Linked DNA regions of Homo sapiens: region 2 is linked to region 1. Evidence: promoter capture Hi-C in 16 types of primary human blood cells and fetal thymus (Javierre and others, 2016). All regions are on one chromosome and are shown on one strand. The core of a region is centred on a gene start or on the middle of the fragment in contact, and the rest is flanking DNA. Distances in the headings are between cores, read along the strand shown.

Region 1 (7,261 bases), core at 1,917-4,416:
TGAAATACATAAGTTGTTTTGAAAAATAAGAAAATATGAGGAGGAGGCGCTCAAGAAGTATGTCTGTTAATTAGATACTGTAGTGAAGCATTACTGTTTTGTTGGGTCCTGCAGCTTGAAACGGACAGAGACATAGTTACCACTAAAAGAAAGCAGTCCTCAATTCCCTATTCAATAAAAAGGTTCAAACTCTACAGACAAAAAAAAAGGTACCCTTGGTTTGTTTGTTTTCAGGGAAGATTAAATTTAGGAGTTGCCAACACCCAAACGAAAAACATTCCAGAGTATTAGACTCCATTGTAGTGGGAAGTCATCTACATTCTCAGCACTATGTTCTCTTACTCAAAGCAGGGGTATTAACAAAAGATGTTTCTTAGGATCTCACAAGATACACTCTACTTACTTCCCCCAGTAAACATTACCCTTGTTTAAAAAAAAAAAAAGTACTTGAAAAATAATTTTAGCACATGCAGCCAGAAAAAAAGTGAAGTTTAACATCTGCCAAGATATTTCCCAAAATAAGACCGCTGTCAGATGAACAATGAGGAAAAGATTGAAAATGACAAATTCTTTTATTTGGATCATCAGCTACTTTTAAAAATCAAGTTGAGGAATGTAGCTTTTCCAAAGCCTTGTCTTCAATTTCCCCTTAATCTTCATATTTTTAACTAAAAAAAAAAAAAAAAAAAACACCTAGAAATTTGATTACCACTCTTACGAATTCCTTCTAAAGCAATTTAATGAATAACAGATCTTTTGTGCAAGTAGCAAACCGCAGAGGACAGTTTTGCTGGCTGATAAAAATCTCTGAAACGCTCATATAAATACGTCCTACAAAGACACACTATGATTTAACAGGTATGGAAATCATAATACTAAAAATTTAGGTATATTTAATATACACCCTAACTTATTGCAAATGCTTCTACTTAAACCACAATTAAAGTTGAGTAAAATTAGAAAGCCAGGAGAAGAAAAAGTGAAAGCTAAACAGTCAATGAGAAAAAGATGCAACTATTTTAGGTGAAACAAGGTAGTTGAACCACTTCCTCAAATCCATGAGCTACTATCAAAGTAATCAAAACTTGTTTGAGATTGTTTTGTCTTGTTTCTGGTAGAGGGAGGTGTGATTATACACTTAGTAAAAATGTTTTACCAGTCACTCTAATGGAAGATGCTGCTACCTGTAACGTTTCGAAAATGCTCCAAACTGCAAACAACCCAAAACAAACAAAAACCCTACCACATGTTTTTCAGACACAGTACTCAAAAAGAGATCGTCTTAGCGAACAGAATTGTGGGTTACTAAATCATCCCTATTGTCCTAAGTATCACTCAGAAAAACACTGTGTGTTTAGGAGCACAACTTATAAACAGCTGATTTATATATAAAATAGTGCACGTATTCATTTGGATATACTCATCTTGAGCTCACTGTAAGATAAAGCTGTCTTGGATATTGCTAAGGCAACATTTTCTTTACAGATGTTATTAAACATTGGTAAGAAAGGAGAAATAAACTGGTAACTTCACATGGGCACGTGAGACCCTAGAGAATGTCGTCACCATTAATCAATTTTTCTAACTGATCAAGCATAAACAGCCAAGTCCAGGTGGCCAAGTCAGCCAAGTCCAGGTGGGCAAGTCCTGGAGCCATAAGTTGTCTTTCTACCACGGTAAAAAAGGATCCTGGATCTGAGACCTGGCCAGGAAGCCTGAAAAGCACGTGTCCTACTCTGAGTTTGGGGAACTTCCCAGGAAGCATTTGTTCAGAGTAAAACTCCATCACCCCCTGCCTGCCTAACTCGGTGAAGGGACAAGTACGAGCCAGGGGAGGTAAACTCTGCGCCCCGGGTAGCTCCCAGGAGGAAGACACCGGGAGGCAGCTGCCCGCCCCGGCCCGGTCCGGCTGCGGCCCCCGCCCGGCTCACCTCTGCGGCAGGGATGTTGACCACGCCGGTGGAGCGCCGCTTCTCCCGCAGCTTCCTCTTCTCGATCTGCCCCTTGCCTTTCCTGGCACTGGGGCCCGAGCTCTTGCCCTTCTCTGGGACGCCGTCCGGCTCCTCCTCGTCACGCTGGGGCGGCGGTGCAGCCGAGGCAGAGGCGGCTGGGGGCTCGTCCTCCGACCGCCGCGGGCCGGGGGCCGCCCGCGTCAGCATGGCGGAGCCGACCGCGCAGTTCACGCCCCCGGGACCGGGGACGGCAGGTGCGGCCGGCGCGCCGCCCGGGAGGTTGTTGTTGAGCTCGTTGGCAGCGGCGGCCGCCGGGGTGCCCAGAGCCCCCGCGGGGGGCTTCCCAGCGGCGTCGCTGCTGCCCCCTCCCGGGGGGGCCGGGCCCGGGGGGTTCTGCTTGGCGCGCATCTTCTCGCGTTTCGCCTTCCACTCCTCCAGGAAGTCTGTGGTGCTGCCGCCGAGGCCGCTGCTGGTCCGGTAGCCACCGGTCGCCATATTCCCAAAGGGGCCGGTCGGGCTCTCACCTCAGGCCGCCCACCAGGGCTCCGGCCGCTGCCTCCTCTTCCTTCCTGCGGCCCCGAGGATGCCAGGAGACGACCTCCAGGAGAGGGACGGCCGCCGCTCCCACAGCAGCCGGCGGGGCTGAGGTGAAAGACAAAAGGGGGCGGGTAAGGGAAGCGTAAGATCCCCGCCCGACCCAAGGGTCTGCCCCCGGGCTGCGCCCCTTGGAGTCCTCGAGCGCGCCCACCAGTCACTACCGGCCAGCAGCCGCCGGGTCCCCACCCTGCAAAGTTTCTCCCACGCACCTACAGTACGGACCCCGACGATCGCCGCCCCTAGAAGGGAGGAGAGAGGACTGACCCCACCCCCAAGTCGGCCCGCCCGCCCCATCCCCACCAAGGTCCGCGCCGGCGGCGGTCGAGATACTAGGGCTAGACCCGCCACCTGTCGGCTCGTCGTATCGCCTGCTCCGCGCTCTAGCCACCGCCGGTCCGAGGTCCCCGTCAGCTACAACCCCACTCCCAAGGCGAGGCGCGGAGCTCCTAGCCGGTTCGCAGAGGAGGCGGGGACCCAGCTGTCCCGCCGAGCGTGGAAAGGACCGGGTGTGAGCGAGCGCCTTACCTTGGAGGAGCTTGTAGGGGACGAGGCGTAGGGCTGGGATCCGGCTCCCAGGTGTGCCGAAGCTGGCGCGCGCTCTTCCGCCGCGCGGAAAGTGCCGCGGCAAACTCGCGGTGCGGAGCTCCAGGCAATCCCAGGACAGGAGGGAGGGAGAAGAAGGAGGGAGGGAGGGAGGGAGGGAGCCAGGGGCGGGAAGGGAGCCGAGCGGCGCCGAAGCACGAGCGGAAAAGGCCGAGGCGGCGCGCGAGGGGCGCGGCGCGCGGTGGGAAGGGTCGTGGCCGCTGACGCCCCGCCCCCGGCGCTCAGGTGCGCGGCGTCGCGTCCGGCCCGCCGCTGCAGCCTGCCCTGCGCCAGCCGTCCTCTGCCCCGCTCCCGCCGCAGACCACAGCGCGCCCGCCGCGCTCCGCCCGCGGCCTGCGAGTTAGACGGCACATTCCTGGGCTAGCAGCTTCGCGGCGTCCGGCCTCCCGGCGCCTCCGACTCCGGGGCGGGAACGGCACTCCACGCCCTTCTTGCTTGTCTTCTCCGCCTCTCTCTTCTCCCACCACTCTTCCTTTTAAGTACAAGACCGTATTATTTGAGAGAAAGTCTCGAACGCTGCTGGCTAAGGGGAAAAGTGCGATAACTTGTGATGATTCAGGGAATGACTAGACAGGATGGGAAAATACCCACGTGTCTCTTTTCCTAGTCGCTGCTCCCTTTTCAGATGTACTAGGGCAGCGGGCAGGAGAATAGAAAGACCTGAGACAAACCCAGCACCCTCCTTCTAAGAAAACTGCGGTGCCCTGGTGAAAAGGGTTGGCTAAGAGGAAGGACTTACTAGTATCTTAGGGTTGCGGGAGAAAAAACTCAGTTCGACAGTTTATTGTATTGGCGATTCCAGTCTTGGAGTTTTCCCCTTAACCCTGTCTCTGCCTCTCCTCTTTACAGAGAATGAATTTAGCAGCAAAGCTCCCTACCAAAGTACTAACGCTGCACTGATGCTAATTTGAGATGAGCTGGGGCAGTGATTGTCTCTATTTTTTCATTATTAACATGCCAGAGGCTTATCCTCTGATGCAAGTCATCTGAAATTTCTGGATCAGAGCGGGGTGGGCTGTCACTGACGCACCTAAGACTGACCTTTCTATATCCAAGTAATGTCAGGGCACATCATTGTGGGAGGCTACAAATGCCAGGTCTCCATTTTGTAAAAAAGTAGGAGAGCCCTAAGTCACGCTCTTACCTAACATAAACCTTTCTTCCTACTTAATATTCCTGTTTTGCCCAGGTAGCACATGATGAGTGAGCAATCAGTGTTTGCCTGCCACAGAACTGGGAACAGAAGAAAGTGATTCACATGCTCTATATTTCTCAGGGAAAGACAGTTTTGGTCTTTGGTCTGGCTGTTGTGGGAAACGTATGGCGAGAGCTCTGGAAAAATCCTTAGAAAATTAAAAGCTTTTGTTGGGAATAGGTCTAAAAGGCTGAGCGGCTGTTTACCTAAGCTAGTACCAACCCCAGTGTGCCACCTGAAGTTTCTCAATTACATATTCATTAGTTTGTTTTCTGAGTTTTAAGGAGAGTAAGGGAGGCTGGGACATTAAACGTATTCACATTCATATGCTTTGTAACTTATCAGAGGACTTTTCTCCTGGAAGGGCTGCAGGATATAGTGGAAAGAGGGTATAGTCAGCTAGCTGAGAGATCTTGGGCATGTTTACATTATCTGGTACTCAGCTTTCTGTACTATAAAATCAGCAAAAATTACATTTTTTTTTTTTTTGAGGCGGAGTCTCGCTCTGTCGCCAGGCTGGAGTGCAGTGGCGGGATCTCAGCTCACTGCAACCTCCGCCTCCTGAGTTCAAGCAATTCTCCTGCTCTCAGCCTCCCAATTACATTATATTTAAGCTGTCTTAAGAACTGACACTGCACATAAAATGTGCTTGATTCGAGGAAGGCACTCAGTAAACATAGTCCCTTCTAGGGGCTTAAAGTCCTTGGTCTCTAAGAAGTGTATGGGAGAAGAGGAAATTATAACAGATGGGGTATTGAATATACAATATCAGCCTAAAAACGATAGACTTTGAATGAACTAGGATAACACCCCACATAAATTTATCACTGCATGGCTTAGACCAGTTCTCTTAGTGTTAATAGGTTCTGAGTCAGGAATTTTGGCTGCTACTGACTTGTGTGGCTTTGGGCAAGTTGCTTAACTTTTGTGCCTCTGTTTACTTACATATAAAATGGGGATAATAATACTTCCTGCATCGTGAGAGTGTTGTGAAAGTGCCTGCAGTCCTTAGATAAAAGGTGGTATGTGAGTACCAGAGTAGGTATTATTAGTCTATAAAGTGCCCTAGGAACCATGGATGAAAGAGATTATTGAGGTACAAAGCTCTGTGTTTTGTTATTATTATCATTTATTATACCTTTTGTCTTTACCATTCTCAATATTCCCGAAGATATATTTCACAGCCAGACTGCTTCCAACATTGCACCGAGGTATTTAGCTGAGTCAGTCCTAAATTGCAAGATGTTTGCATATCATCAATCTTTATGTATAGCGTTCTGATGAAATAATCCTCAAAGACTTGGAGCTTGGTTTCTCAACCTCAGCACTGTTACATTTGGGGCTGGATAATTCTTTGCTGTCCTGCCCATTGTAGGTTGTTTAGCAGCATCGTTGGCTTCTACCTATTAGATACCAATAAGAAACCCCCACCTGTATTGTGACATTGCCACATGGTCCCTGGGATAAAATTCTTCCCCGGTTGAGCACCTCTGAGTTAGCCTAAAATAACCAATTTTTAGCGACTCACTTGCCCTTAATAATAAAATGAAATATGATGATAATGCTGACAAAAACAGATTCATTTAAATATGTCAGAGTGAAACCTAGATGTTAGTCTTAATGATTTTGAGGAAGTGTATTATTATATGTATGGATAGCTAGTGTATTGGGAAGTAGCCATTTTGCCTTCAATGCAGGTATTTCTGGAACATATGCAATTCATCCTCTAACATCAAAATATTATATGTGCATAGGATAAAAAAATTACATACTTTAGTTCTACAAGGATTATAACAAAAAACAGCAATCCCCTCTCTACCTTATCCATTCTGAAAACCCTACCCAAAACTTTGAACTTTTTAACTGTTTCCATTAATAGAGATCTTCATATTTATTTTTTATGTGCATATCTGCTATTGTACATCTTGATTTTTCCATTTTTAGATATAGAAGAGGATTTAGCTCTAATACACTAATAACACATATACTTTTCTTTTCTTTTTCTTTTTTTTTTCTTTTTTTTTGAGATGGAGTCTCGCTCTGTCTCCCAGGCTGGAGTGCAGTGGCGCGATCTCGGCTCACTGCAAGCTCCGCCTCCCGGGTTCACGCCATTCTCCTGCCTCAGCCTCCTGAGTAGCTGGGACTACAGGTGGCTGCCACCACGCCCGGCTAATTTTTTTTTTTTTTTTTTTTTTTTTTTGCATTTTTAGTAGAGACGGGGTTTCACTGTGTTAGCCAGGATGATCTCGATCTCCTGACCTCGTGATCCACCCGCCTCGGCCTCCCAAAGTTCTGGGATTACAGGCATGAGCCACCATGCCCGGCCACACATATACTTTTCATACTCCTACACGCCCGTAGTATTATGACTATACAAATACTGTTCATAGCTGAGTCATGTGGTGTATATGATTGCATTTCTTTTTTTTTACAACTGTTTTTCCTTGTTGCACAACTATACCTTTTGTCTTTACCATTTTTCTGCAGTTAAAACTTGCCTCTTTTTTTTTCTTTAATCATCGGCTTATTTTTTTATATACCAGTCACAAGTATATACTCAAATTTTCCTCCTCTCAATGACGTTAATCACATTGGGTAAGCTATCAGTTCTATTCTCTTTTTGGAAACATCTGTTCTGGAGCCCTCCATCCCCTGCTTTAATATGGATTGATTTTGTTTGTTTGTTTGGAGACGGAGTCTCGCTCTGTTGGTGAGGCTGTAGTGCAGTGGCGCAGTCTTGGCTCACTGCAACCTCCGCCTCCTGGGTTCAAGCAATTCTCCTGCATCAGCCTCCAGAGTAGCTGGGAATACAGGCACATGCCACCACGCCCAGCTAATTTTTTGTATTTTAGTAGAGACGGGGGTTTCACCATGTTGCCCAGACTGGTCTCGAACTTCTGAGCTCAGGCAACCA
Region 2 (7,261 bases), core at 3,284-5,783, 140 kb before region 1:
ATTCCTCTAAGTGTCACAAAGGTTGTTGTGTTTGTGATGTGGGTTTTGACTGTCCTCATGTTACCAGAAAGAGGTCCTGATCCAGACCCCAAAAGAGGGTTATTGGATCTTGCACAAAAAAGAATTTGAGGCGAATCCATAAAGTGAAAGCAAGTTTACTAGGAAAGTAATGGCTTTTTACTAGGAAAGTAATACAGGAATGGCTACTCCATAGTCAGAGCTGCCCCACAGGTTGCTGGTTGCCCACTTTTCCGGTTATTTCTTGATGATATGCTAAACAAGAAGTGGATTATTCATGCCTCCCCTTTTTAGACCATATAGGGTAAAGTGTGATGGCACTGATGGGAGTGTAGCAGTGAGGACAACCTGAGGTCACTCTCATCGTCATCTTGGTTTTGGTTTGGTGGGTTTTAGTCGGCTTCTTTACTGCAACCTGTTTTTACCAGCAAGGCCTTTATGACCTGTATCTTGTGCCCACCTCTTATCTGATCCTGTGACTTAGAATTCCTAACTGTCTGGGAATGCAGCCCAGTAGGCCTCAGCCTTATTTTACCTAGCCCCCCCATTTAAGACGAAGTTGCTCTGAGTTGAATAAAAAGCATTCAAAAATAACCAAATAAAAAACTTTATGTGGATAGAGAATCAGAAAGACTGTGGTGACAGTTCTGAGTCAAACCTTCACGATTTCCCCTCCTTCCTGTAATGAAATTAGACTCAGGAGAAGTTCCAGGATTTAACAAACCCAGGAATAATAGTCTACATTTCAACACTGAAAAGTTTTCTTACTCTGTTTACCAACTATGGGGACTATGACTAAAATATTATGAGAAATAACTCATGTCTCAAGACTCAGAGCCAAATTAATTTCACATATCTATAATTTGCTACACAAACAACCACTTTCCCAGAGGCCTCTGTTCCTATAGGTCAACAAACACGAGATGACTCCACGATGAGACTCCCAGGCTTCAGACAAGTCCATAGCCTTAGGTAATTATGATCTGAGGTGGTTTTGAAGCTCCTCTTACACACACAGACCCCCCAAACCCATCCCTCCCACCCCCTGCACCCCGCCCCATCTCTGGGCCAAAACTTTCTTTCCAGTGGGTCTGAAAAGTACTGCCTGAAATTCTCAGCATTCCTGTCATTCCCTAAAGGCTGAGGCAGCTCTCTAAACATTCTTTCAGGCACCTGAGGAATTGGGCCACCAGCTCTTCTGTGGGGAGCCAACAGGAAATTAAGTATAAAGGGCAGCAAAAGTATTTGGGGAGATGACAATGAGGCATAAAGGAAACAAAGAAGGGTGGGGGTGCAAGAAAAGAAGCCTGGTCTACCTACACACTTTGCCCTGCAGACAGTTCTACCTCTCAGCACGTGTGATGACTTACCTAGGAATGGAATGTGGACCTGGGAGGGGAAGCTGGTACAAAGCTGTGGAGGCTGGAAAGGAACCCAGGGCCCTATTACAAATCGTGAATAGTGACTTTTAGCTAGAATCACTTGCCAGAAGCTTGGGAAAAAAATGTTTTCACTGAGGGCCTAATTGGATGTCAGAAGGCTTCTACAGAAAGCCTGGCTCCTAGAGCTTCCTAGCTGCTGAGATGGGCTATCCTGGCAAGAATCCTCTCCCTCCTCCTTTCTTTCCCTCTTGCTCCCTTCCTCTTTCCCCTCCTTTTCTCTTTTCCGTACACAATCTGACAGTTTATTTGGGACAATTCTTTGGAGAACTGGGATACACCTGCAGTATATTCATTTTTAAGCCACGGACAAACCACTAGAGGGCGATGCCATCACTAATTGCTGAAACTTTCCTGCTTTCCTCTGGCTTCAGCATTCAGCAGGCCTATCCACACATCCTGTGACAGGATGTTTCTGAACTTTTCCTTCAATTCTCATTGTAAATAAACAACCTCAGGGTGAATACATCCAGATGCACATCATAGCGACATGCAGCATGAATTGCACAGGCCAAAGTTTCTGGTCTATCCGGAACAGTCTTGCCTAATATGCACCACAGTTCAGAAACCAGAGGTTAAACTTGCTTTTTTGTCCTGAATTTCTGCCTGAATTTTGGAGTTTCTCTCAAATGCTATCTCTAAGGGCAAAAGGAGCCCTTCAAAGAAATGAAAAGTTAAATAATCCAGCACAGCCCATTTGTACAGGATTTCTGTTTTGTTTCCATATTCAAGTTACAAATATTTGGTTTGCTTAAATGCAGGGTTTGCCCAAATGGTCAAAAGCTATTAGTAGATTAGTCATGTATGCAAATATGGGGAGCAGGGGCACATGTTTCTCACTGCTTGAGAAACTATGTGTATAAACGGGGTCCCAGTAAATTTGGTCCTAGCCGGGGCGTACCAAAGAAAGCAAAGCTAGCAGGGGTAGTGGCTAATGTCTGTAATCCCAACACTTTGGGAAGTTAAGGCAGGAGGATCACTTGAGGCTGGGAGTTCAAGGTTTGCCTGGGCAACATAGCAAGACCCCATCTCTAAAAAAATAAAAATAGTCAGGTATGTACTATTATACAGGTGTGCACCTGTAGTCCCAGCTCCTCAGGAGGCTGGGGTGGGAGGATCCTTTGAGCCCAGGAGTTTGAGGCTGCAGTAGCTGTGATCACACCACTGCACTCTAGCCTGGGTGACAAAGCAAGACTCTGTCTGAAAAAAAAAGGGAAGAGAAAGAAAGAGAAAGAAAGAAGGAAAGAAAGAAAGAAAAAGAAAGAGAGATAGAGAAAAGAAAAGAAAAAAGAAAAGAAGGCTGCTAGAAATCTTAAACTCGGCTGGGTGCAGTGGCTCATGCCTGTAATCCCAGCGCTTTGGGAGGCCGAGACGGGTGGATCACCTGAGGTCAGGGGTTGGAGAGCAGCCTGGCCAACATGGTGAAACTAGTCTCTACTAAAAATACAAAAATTAGCCAGGCATGGTGGCGGGAGCCTGTAATCCCAGCTGAGGCAGGAGAGGAGGCTGAGTCAGGAGAATCGCTTGAACCCGGGAGGTGGAGGTTGCAGTGAGCTGAGATCGTGCCACTGCACTCCAGCCTGGGAGACAGAGTGAGACTCCTTCTCAAAAAAAAGAAAAAAAAAAAAAAAGAAATCTTAGAACTCCTTGAACTTTTTGGGCAGAATCTCCCTTCCTATGAGTTCAACTAGTGTTCCTAGGCATACACTCTGCCTCCTGTATAGGGGCAGACTAGCATCAGACTTCTCTGAGATTAGTATTTCAAGAATTTATGCAAACTAACCTATTGAAGTTAGACTGAAGATCTGGGTAAAAATGTAAATCAGAAAGTATTCAATAAATCAGGTAAAGCACATAACAGGCAATTCATGTACTGGAATACTGCTGCCTCCAGCACTGGTGGTGTACTTCTTCAAGTACAGTACTTCTTCAAATATTTGCTGATGTCAAGCTTATCCTCCATTTATCAGCAGAGGCAGATAAGGTGAGGAAAATATTTGTAGGCAGAGAGATTTCTGGAATTTTCCTACAGTGCTGAAATACCATCCAGAGTTCAAGTGGGCCATATTTGGACAATGATTACTATGTTATTTTTTCTATCGTATTTTCACTGCTATATAATAACATTAACACTCTTTACACAAGGTCAGTACTATTTACCTAAGACTTTCCCAAATCTTTCCCATTCTCTCCCCTCAAAAGTTCATGAACACATTCTATGTTTCTGAAGGAAAAAATATAATAGAGGAAAAGTTTATTGAGATTAGTCAAGTGGGGATTGTAATTCACCAAATCTGCATTTACTAGAAGGAAGATAGAGCAGAAAACTAGTCCCAGGGTTTAAAGACTACAATTCATAGAAGACTCCTATTGTTGGGCCAACACTGTATTTCACAGCAGGTGAAGAGAGAAAAAGTACAGGAAAACAAACAAGGATGGAAGTATGGTACAGGAGGGTGCACAGTGAATAGAAGAAAATGCTATGGAAGACTACTCCTCACCGAGCAAAACCCGACTAGGTGGAACGTGGACTGAAGGTGGAGATGAATTCAAGAGTTTTACGGAGGGCACCTGTCACCTAATCACAGCGCCAACGACGCTACCAAGAAAGCATCATGGCCTTTTCTTTTACAGGCACTTTGTTTACAGGACAAATCAAGGAAATCAAGGAAAAGGCATCTTTTCTCTTCCAGATCACTTTTAGAATCCAAGATTTGGTACACTGGGACAAATAAAAACACATAGCTATGAAAGGGTCGATGAGATCCCATTTGTAACTTGGCTAAATAGAGTTGTTTCAGTACCTGACAACTTGAGTTCAATCTGTATTATTCTGAATGTATAATTGATGTGGCCATCAGTTTCCAGTAAAGGAACTTTTGTTTTGCTTTTTTCCCCCCACTTTCCCTCAGAAGGAATGGCTTTCTCATTAGGAAATGTTCGCATGCCCTCAGAAAAGGTGTTTGGAATAGAAAGACTCCCCGGAATCAGATTAAAATGCCAGCAGAGTTGAGTATGTTCTTCCCCATTTTGAGCTAGTTAAATGAGAACTCACGCCATTCTCCACACAGGGAACTTCTTAGGTAAAACTATTAAAGCCATGGAACCATTTACTTAGTGTGGTTATTAAAATCCTATGGCACTCTGGTGAACAGTGCTGTGGACTGGCAGCCAGAATATCTTTTCCAATTCTAGCCCCTATATTTCCTGGATTTATAGAAGCAAAGCAACTAGGAAAGCTGTAGGTCTTCTCACCCATTTTGTAGATATTTGTTGAGTACCCAATGTTTTAGGCACTGGAGTACAATAATAAACCAGATCTAGCACAGTCCTTGCCTTCACAGTTCAGAGTCATGAAGGAAACAAACCAGTAAAAAGGCAATTGTAACGTCATACCCATTAGCATGGCCATGATAAAAGAGAGAGAGAGAGGAGGAAAAAAAGGAAAGAAAGAAGTGTTGGTGAGGACACTAAACAATCAGAACCCTCATACAGTGTTGGTGTCAATGTAAAATGATGCGGCTACTCTAGAAAAGTCCTCCAAAAGCTCAATACAGAATCAGAATAACCATACAATGTAGCAGTGTCACTGCTAGGTACATACTCAAGACCATTGAAAACATGGCCATACAAAAACTTGTACACAAATGTTAATAGAAGCATTATTTATTAATACTCAAAAAGTGGAAACAATCCAAATGTCCATCAGCTGACGAATGGATATACAAAATGTGGTACATACATACAATGGAATATTTCAACCATAAAATGAAATGAAGTACTGATACATAATACAACATGGATGAACCTTAGAAACATATTTAGTGCAAGAAGACAGACACAAAGGGACAAATATGGTATGATTCTATTCACATAAAATGTCCAGACTAGGGAAATAAATAGAGATAAAAAGTAGATTAATAATTGTCAGGGGATTGGGGGAAGGGGAAACACGGAGTGGCTGTCAATGGGTGTGTATGTGGGTTCTTTTAGGAGTGATGAAAATGTTCTCAAATTATATAGTGATTGCATAACCTTGTAAATATATTAAAAACCACTGAATTGTACAATTTAAAAGAGTGACTTTTATGTTATGTAAATTATATCAATAAGACAAGGTAATTATAATACAATAAGATGATGGCCATATTAGAGCGTGCTAGTCTACATGTGTGGGGGTAGTGTTGGAGAAGAGGTTCAGAAAAGCTTTCTGAAAAAAATGACTTTTAAGCAGTGATCACAGAAGACAAGTAGGAGTAAGAAGGAAAAGGAGGAAGAATGGATCAATGTTAAAGGAACAGCAGAATATGCCCACGGCAGAGGGGAGAGAGCACATGGTACATTTGGAGGAATAGTGGTCCTGCTGGGCTGAAACATGGTGTTCACAGTGGAGAGAAGTAAGGCTAGGGATAGAAGGAGCAAACCAACCATGCTAAAGAATTTCTACTTTATCCTAATTATAACAGGAAACCCTTGAAAGAGCTAAAGCACAGGAATGACAAGATCTGGTCTGTTCTTCGGAAAGGTTGTTCTAAGTGCAACGCGAAGAACAGACTGGAGGTAAAGCAAGCATAGGGGCCAAGAGATTGGTTAGGAGGTTATTGCACTAACGCAAGTCTGAACTGACCAAATAGGGAAAATTGGAAGGTACCGGGGAAGTTCTTCCAAGCTCCCTGTAATGCTCTGCCAACTATAACAGTACTAGGCTCTGCCAGGAAGCAAGATGTGGTTTTAGTAAGGAGGTGGTGCCAATGCTAAGGCTGCTAGCGAGTCTTCCAGCAGACTCTACTCCTGCTTTTGGCCCAAACTTTATACTCAATCTCTAGACTTGGGCTCCCTTTTCCCTCCACAATGAACATAAAGATCCTCACCATGTGCAACAGAGAGATAGTCTACTGTAAGAGTATGGATTTGAGTCAGAAGCACCTAAGTTCAAATTCCTGCCCTGCCATTTCCAAGCTTATGTGATAAGATATACTTAACCTCTGATCTCAGTTTTTTGAATGTGAAATTAGGAAGATAGTAACATATCTCAGTTTTGTGCTAAGGATTATATGTGATTACAGATGTAAAAAAGCCTTGCACCAGGCCTGCCCTTTAGTAGGTGCTCAATAAATGTAGTCTCTGTACTCTTTGCATCACAATCCTATAGTTACAATTGTGTTCCTAATTGGTGGGTTCTTGGTCTCGCTGACTTCAAGAATGAAGCCGCGGACCCTCGTGGTAAGTGTTACAGTTCTTAAAGATGGCGTGTCCGGAGTTTGTTCCTTCTGATGTTCGGACATGTCTGGAGTTTCTTCCTTCTGGTGGGTTCGTGGTCTCGCTGGCTTCAGGAGTGAAGCTGCAGACCTTCACGGTGAGTGTTACAGCTCTTAAGGCGGTCCGTCTAGAGTTGTTCGTTCCTCTCGTTTGGAGTTGTTCATTCCTCCCGGTGCGTTCATCGTCTTGCTGGCCTCCTGCAGACCTTCACGGTGAGTGTTAGAGCTCATAACGGCAGTGCAGACCCAAAGAGTGAGCAGCAACAAGATTTATTGCCAAGAGCAAAAGAACAAAACTTCCACAGTGTGGAAAGGGTCCGGACTGAGTTGCCCCTGCTGGCTGGGGCAGCCAGCTTTTATTGCCTTATTTGGCCCCACCCACATCCTGCTGATTGGTCCATTTTACAGAGAGCTGATTGGTCTGTTTTGACAGGGTGCTGATTGGTGCGTTTACAATCCCTGAGCCAGACAGAGTGCTGATTGGTGTATTTACAATCCTCTAGCTAGATGTAAAAGTTCTCCAAGTTCCCACTAGATTAGCTAGAC

Evidence for each region. Contacts are between HindIII fragments. The CHiCAGO score rates a contact against its expected background, and 5 or more counts as called.
Region 2: a contact is called between a fragment that was not itself captured here and the fragment with the promoter of PAWR in region 1, in 4 of 17 cell types (total B cells, megakaryocytes, naive B cells and 1 more). The highest score is 13.7, in total B cells.

Annotation. Positions count from the first base shown.
Region 1 is chr12:79,687,798-79,695,058 of GRCh38, forward strand. It overlaps PAWR (pro-apoptotic WT1 regulator), which reads right to left and starts at 3,167. Exons shown (of 7, transcript NM_002583.4): 1 at 3,075-3,167; 2 at 1,932-2,594. The coding sequence starts at 2,447. PPP1R12A-AS2 (PPP1R12A antisense RNA 2) reads left to right here and starts at 2,235. Exons shown (of 7, transcript NR_187531.1): 1 at 2,235-2,599. RefSeq lists silencers at 1,875-2,394, 3,165-3,464. The HindIII fragment of the contact is 6,027 bases long and covers 1-4,509 here.
Region 2 is chr12:79,546,255-79,553,515 of GRCh38, forward strand. No RefSeq gene overlaps it. Among named protein-coding and RNA genes, the nearest start is that of MIR1252, 130 kb to the left of the region's middle. RefSeq lists enhancers at 1,024-1,752, 1,195-1,489 and a silencer at 1,195-1,489. The HindIII fragment of the contact is 2,255 bases long and covers 3,407-5,661 here.